Regions from separate parts of the Homo sapiens genome. Here region 2 is linked to region 1. The links are contacts of gene promoters, found by promoter capture Hi-C in human tissues and cell types (Jung and others, 2019). All regions are on one chromosome and are shown on one strand. Each heading gives the region's core, a stretch centred on a gene start or on the middle of the fragment in contact. The rest is flanking DNA. Distances are from core to core; before and after follow the strand shown.

Region 1 (3,421 bases), core at 806-3,305:
AGAAGTTCACAGCCTCCTCTAATCATTACAGCACTTGAGAGCTGGTCACTCTGCCCAATCTTGTGAATCACCAGGTTGATCAGGAGGCACATCCTAAACCCTAGGGCATACGCAATCCTTGTCAATCTTCTTTTCCTACTTAGTACACTCTTTCACGATGATCTCATTCAATGTCATGGCTTTTAGCTACCATCTATGAGGCTATGGTTTTGAAATCTCTATCTGTAGCCCATTTCTCTCCCCTGAACTTTGCCATTTGGGTGTCCCACAGACACCTGATGCTCAGTGGGTCTACATATGAACTCATCTTTCCTGTCTCACCCACACTGCTCTGTGTTTCCTAGCTTAGAGAAAAAAAGTGCTACGATAGCCACCCAAGACATCTGTGACTCCTTCATCTCTGTCTTTACCTCTGGTTAGTCATTAAAGAATTATTTTCCATATATATATAGAGGACAGAGTCTTGCTCTGTAGCCCAGGCTGGAGAGCAGTGGTGCAATTTCAGCTCACTACAACCTCTGCCTCCTGGGTTCAAGCAATTTTGGTCTCTTGACCACCTGAGCCACCTGAGTAGCTGGGACTACAGGCGTGTGCCACCACACCCGGCTAATTTCCTCTTTTTACTTTTTTTTTTGAGCCGGAGTCTTGCTCTGTCGCCCAGGCTAAAGTGCAGTGGTGCGATCTCGGCTCACTGCCAGCTCTGTCTCCCAGGTTCACACCATTCTCCTGACTCAGCCTCCCAAGTAGCTGGGACTACAGGCGCCCGCCACTACGCCCAGCTAATTTTCTGTATTTTTAGTAGAGACAGGGTTTCACCGTTAGCCAGGATGGTCTCGATCTCCTGACCTCGTGATCCACCCCCCTCGGCCTCCCAAAGTGCTGGGATTACAGGCGTGAGCCACCGCGCCTGTCCTCTTTTTACATTTTTAAAATCTTTTTCTGACATTTGTTTCTCAGCTGGAGTTGTACCAAAGCGCCTAACTGGTCGTTTTTCTTTAATTTTTTTCCAGACAGGATCTCCCTCTGTTGCACAGGCTGGAGTGCAGTGGCGCTATCTCAGCTCACTGCAACCTCTGCCTCCTGGACTCAAGCAATCCTCCCACCTCAGCCTCCCAAGTAGCTGGGACTGCAGGTGCGAGCCACTACGTTCAGCTAATTTTTTGTATTTTTTGTAGACACAGGGTTTCACCATGTTGTTCAGGCTGGTCTTGAATTCCTGAACTCAAGCCATCTGCCCGCCTTGGCCTCCCAAAGTGCTGGGATTACAGGCCTGAGCCACCGTGTCCGGCCTGGTCTTTTTTCTCTAGGCTCTCTCCTTTCCCAAACTTTTCTCCATGTTGTAGCCAGGGTTCTTTTAAAGCTCACATGTATTCTTTGGTATGGCACTGCAGAGTACTCCTGGATCTGGACCTACTCCTTTTCCAGACTCTTTTTTTTTTTTGAGACAGAGTCTCTCTCTGTAGCCCAGGCTACAATGCAGTGGCGCGATCTCGGTTCGCTGCAACTTCCGCCTCCCGCGTTCAAGCGATTCTCCCACCTCAGCCTCCCTAGTAGCTGGGATTACAGGCGCGCGTCACCATGCCCGGCTAATTTTTGTATTTTTAATGGAGACGGAGTTTTACCATCTTGGCCAGGCTGGTCTCGAACTCCTGACCTCAAGTGATCCGCCTGCCTCGGCCTCCCAAAGTGCTGGGGTTACAGGCGTGAGCCACCGCGCCCAACCCCTCAGTTCTTTTTTCTTTTGAAACCCACTATAATCTCTGTAAGTCCTATCAGTTCCAAGAGACTTTCTACACAAATACATCTCCAGGTTGTCAAACCTAAAAAGATTTTCCTAGAGCATGGCCTATGACGTCAAGGATCCAGGTAGCGCCCGGAGGAAAGCGCCAAAGGAGGCCGCCATCTTTCATACAGCAGCCCGGAATTTTGCGCATGCGCCTCTGATTGTCTGTCCGCAATGAAGCTCTTCGGCCTTCTCGGCACCCATACGTTTGGGAACGGCAGTTTCGAGGTTTGTGAGACGTCGGCTTCCGACCGGAAGTGAGAAGAGGAGGAAGTTGGCTGGTTGCACCGATCTGGGGGCTTCCCGGGCTCGGGTAACCGGAGTGCTGGTATCTAATCGTCGCTCAAAAGCTCCTAGGTGCGCGGGTGGATATAATTCCCGGCTTCTCGAGAAGACACTACAGCCTCAAGGAGGTGTGCTTCTAGTGTTTAATTGGATACGTGTTATGGATGCCGGCTTAGAAGGACCTATATACCATCATCTTAAAATAACTTCCCCTTGGCTCTCTCTCTCTTTTTTTTTTTTTTTTTTTTTTTGAGACGGAGTTTCGCTCTTGTTGCCCAGGCTGGAGTGCAATGGCGCGATCTCGGCTCACCGCAACCTCGCCTTCCGGGTTCAAGCGATTCTCCTGCCTCAGCCTCCTGAGGAGCTGGGATTACAGGCGCTCGCCACCAGGCCTGGCTAATTTTTTGTATTTTTAGTAGAGTCGGGGTTTCTTCATGTTGGTCAGGCTGGTCTCGAACTCCCAACCTCCAGTTGATCCGCCGGCCTCGGCCTCCCAAAGTACTGAGATTACAGGCGTGAGCCACCGCGCCCGGCCTTGGCTCTCTTTAAAAGGCATTTTTAGGCTAGCCGCAGTGTGGTCTCCCGCCTGTAGTAGTCCCAGCTACTCGGCTTGAGCCCAGGAGTTCGAGGTTATAGTGAGCTAGGAACTCCCCACTGCACTGCAGCCTGGGCTACAGAGCGAGATCCTGTCACCAAAAAAGAAAAGCGTACGGGGGAAGGCATTTTCAGAGAGATAGAACGCCTAGATGTTAGTTTGGTCCAAACTCTGCTACCAACTTGCTGTGTGTATCCTTCTGTCCCTCTCCAAGTCTCAATATCCTCATCTATAAAACGAAGGTCCCTTAAGTCACTTTTTCAGTTCTTCTGAATTTTGTTGCCTCTTTATTATCTCGTTTGAGCCACATAGCCTTGGGAGTTAAAAATCACTGGCCTTTGGCCGGGCACGGTGGCTCACACCTGTAATGCCAGCACTTTGGGAGGCCGGATCACCTGAGTATCACCTGAGGCCAGGAGTTCGAGGCCAACCTGGCCAACATGACGAAACCCCGTCTCTACTAAAAATACAAAAAAAATTAGCTGGGCTTGGTTGCGGGCGCCTGTAATCCCAGCTACTCGGGAGGCTGAGACAGGAGAATCGCTTGAACCTGGGAGGCAGAGGCTGCAGTGAACAGAGATTGCGCCATTGCACTCCAGCCTGGGCGACAAGAGTGAAACTCCGTCTCAAAAAAAAAAAAAAAAAAAAATCACTGGCCTCATTTTATAAGGAAGACATTGAGTCCCAGGGTGAGGGGTTATAGATAGGACTTTCTCAAGATTGCACAGGTAATGTGGAGGTTTCAGAACTTGAGACTA
Region 2 (3,125 bases), core at 586-3,085, 430 kb after region 1:
AGGTTTCACCATATTGGTCAGGCTGGTCTCGAACCCCTGACCTTGTGATCTGCCTGCCTCGGCCTCCCAAAGTGCTGGGATTACAGGTGTGAGCCACCATGCCTGGCCCAGCTGTTAGTTACATCGTGGAAATTGACAAATGCTGTATATAAATCAATGTTTAATTTTTGCTGATTGTCTAGACTTCATAGTGATGGAGAAAATATTGATTGCAGATTAAATTTGTGTGTCACGACTGTAGCTCTTAAACATTTTTTTTCAATAACACAAAAATTTGTCCTGCACAGTGGCTCACACCTGTAATCCCAACACTTTGGGAGGCTGAGGTGGGAGGATTGCCTGAGCTCAGGAGTTTGAGACCAGCCTGGGCAGCATAGCGAGACCTTGTCTCTACAAAAAATTTAAAAAAAATTAACCAGACTTGGTGGCGCATAACTAAAGTATAGCTACTCAGGAGGCTGAGGCAGGAGGATTGCTTGAGTCCAGGAAATGAAAGCTGCAATGAGCTGTGATCATGCCACTGCACCCCAGCCTGGGTGACAGCAGGAGACTGTCCCTAGAAAAAAAAATTTTTTTGAGGAAATATTCTAATATTTGAAAAACTATTACCCAGTTTAGCAAAGAAGTTGCTCAAAACATGTTTCATGTTTGTATATTGGAACTTACACCTGGAGAGCCACTGAGTCTCTAACCCCGAAGCTCATGGACTACTCCATGATCTATGAAGTTTGCCAGATAGAAAAGTAGAGAAATGGCTAGGTGCAGTGGCTCATGCCCGTAATCCTCGCACTTTGGGGAGGCTGCAGCAAGAGAATCACTTGAACCCAGGAGTTTGAGACCAGCCTAGGCAACATAATGAAATCCTGCCTCTCCAAAAAAAAAAAAAAAAAAAAAAAAAAAAAAAAAAAAAAAATCAGCCAGGTGTGATGAGGCACACCTGTAGTCCTAGTTGCTCAGGAGGCTGAGACAGGAGGATTGCTTGAGCCCGGGACGTCAAGTCTGCAGTGAGTCATGATGGTACCACTGTACTCCAGTCTGGGCACAGTGAGACCCTGTCTTCCAAAAAATGGCATTCTAGTAAGAGCATGTTAAAAACATAGTCTTGAGAATGCTTATGGTATGTTTTCAGAATGAGAAGTTTAATGTGGTCTAGAATGGTAAGTGATAACGCTGGAGAGATTGGTTGGGCAAGTATATGAAGAGTTTCAGGATTTTATTCTTTTTTTTTTTTTTTTTCTGAGACAAAAATCTCGCTTTGTCCCCCAGGCTGGAGTGCAATGGCGCGATCTTGGCTCGCTGCAGCCTCCCCCTCCCAGGTTCAAGCGATTCTCCTGCCTCAGCCTCCCGAGTAGCTGGGATTACAGGTGCCTGTCACCACGCCCAGCTAATTTTTGTATTTTTAGTGGTGACAGGGTTTCATCATGTTGGCTAGGCTGGTCTCAAACTCCTGACCTCAGGTGATCTGCCTGCCTTGGCCTCCCAAAGTGCTGGGATCACAGGTGTGAGCCACTGCGCTCGGCCTAGGATTTTATTCTTTACCTGTGTTTTAGTTTGGTTGTAAGGGAGGGTAGTTAATTAGGGAATAACAGTTTGGAGGATGGGAAGGATGAAACACTTACTGAGCATTGACCTTGTTAAGCACCATGCTAGGTACTTTCATAGCCTTACTTTAATCCCCATACCAACCTGGGAGGCAGTATCCTGTATTTATAGATCAACAAATGGAAGCTTAGGAAAGCAACTTATCAAAACATCTATGAGGCTGGGTGAGTTGGCTCACGCCTCTAATTCCAGCACTTTGGGAGGCCAAGGTTGGCAGGTCATTTGAGGCCATGAGTTTGATACCAGCCTGGCCAACATGGCGAAACACTGTCTCTACTAAAAATACAAAAAAATTAGCCGGGCGTGGTGACGGGCGCCTGTAGTCCCAGCTACTCAGGAGGCTGAGGCAGGAGAATGGTGTGAACACTGGAGGCGGAGTTTGCAGTGAGCTGAGATAGCGCTACTGCACTCCAGCCTGGGCGAAAGAGCGAGACTGTGTCTCAAAAAAAAAATTGGCCGGGCGCGGTGGCTCATGCCTGTAATCCCAGCACTTTGGGAGGCTGAGGTGGGTAGTTCGCAAGGTCAGGAGTTCAAGACCAGCCTGGCAACATGGTGAAACCCCATCTCTACTAAAAAATTAGCTGGGCGTGGTGGTGGGTGCCTGTATTCAGGGGGCTGGGGCAGGAGAATCACTTGAAACCAGAAGGCGGCAGTTGCAGTGAGCCGAGATTGCTCCACTGCACTCCAGCCTGGGCAATGAGAGCAAAACTTCGTCTCAAACAAACAAAAAAATTAGCCAAGAGTGGTGGTGTGTGCCTATAGTCCTATAGTCCCAGCTACTCAGGGAGCTGAGGGATGAGAATCACTTGAACCTGGGAGGCAGAGGTTACAGTGAGCCGAGATCGCAACACTGCATTCCAGCCTGGGTGACAGCTCAAAAAAAAAAAAAAAAAAAAAGGGGTGGGAGATGGCTCAGAGACTAAACGAGATGCTTTTACAGTATTCTGGGGAAAAAAAGATGATGAGGGCCTGAACCAGGACAGTGGGAACGGGAAACTGGATATGAAGAATGTGGTAGACATATTTGTTGACTAGTTTTTCAAAAATTAAAGATGATGAGAGGAGCAGCAGTTTAGGGTTAGGATTTGGGGTTGTATTGGCTTTTGGAAATAGTTTCAGGTGCCTGTGATAGTAGCAGCAGCCAGGTGATAGTAGGCAGCTGGGAATCTGGAGCTCAGATTGTTGACAGGAATTTGAATTTTCAACCCTCAGGATAGGTAAAGGCATGGAAGAGTTTGACTTTTCAAAGATTCTTGTAATAAGAATGGCTAACAGTTATTGAATGCTCTGTACAGTGTCTAGCATACAGTTGTCTTGAATATATATTTAAATGTATGTTCATTTAATTCTTGTATCCTTGTGAGGTAGGTATAAGTAGCTCAGTTTTACTGATGAAAACATTAAAACACAGAAAAGAGTAAATAACTTTGCAAAGGCACATGAGATACGAAAGTAAAGCTGGTGTTCTAATTCTGCAGCGTGGTTCTAGAGCCAACACGAGTGAGAGAAAAGGACTATGGAAA

Evidence for each region. The method cuts DNA at HindIII sites, captures the fragments that hold promoters and counts their contacts. A contact is called where the count stands out against the background at its distance.
Region 2: a contact is called between a fragment that was not itself captured here and the fragment with the promoter of MED18 in region 1, in 1 of the 25 tissues and cell types used here (dorsolateral prefrontal cortex).

The regions. Positions count from the first base shown.
Region 1 is chr1:28,326,985-28,330,405 of GRCh38, forward strand. MED18 (mediator complex subunit 18) reads left to right here and starts at 2,056. Exons shown (of 3, transcript NM_017638.3): 1 at 2,056-2,196. RefSeq lists enhancers at 2,090-2,597, 2,598-3,105. The HindIII fragment of the contact is 33,273 bases long and covers 1-3,421 here.
Region 2 is chr1:28,752,486-28,755,610 of GRCh38, forward strand. The region is part of intron 4 of YTHDF2 (YTH N6-methyladenosine RNA binding protein F2); the gene reads left to right. Among named protein-coding and RNA genes, the nearest start is that of YTHDF2, 17 kb to the left of the region's middle. RefSeq lists an enhancer at 2,026-2,525. The HindIII fragment of the contact is 8,261 bases long and covers 1-3,125 here.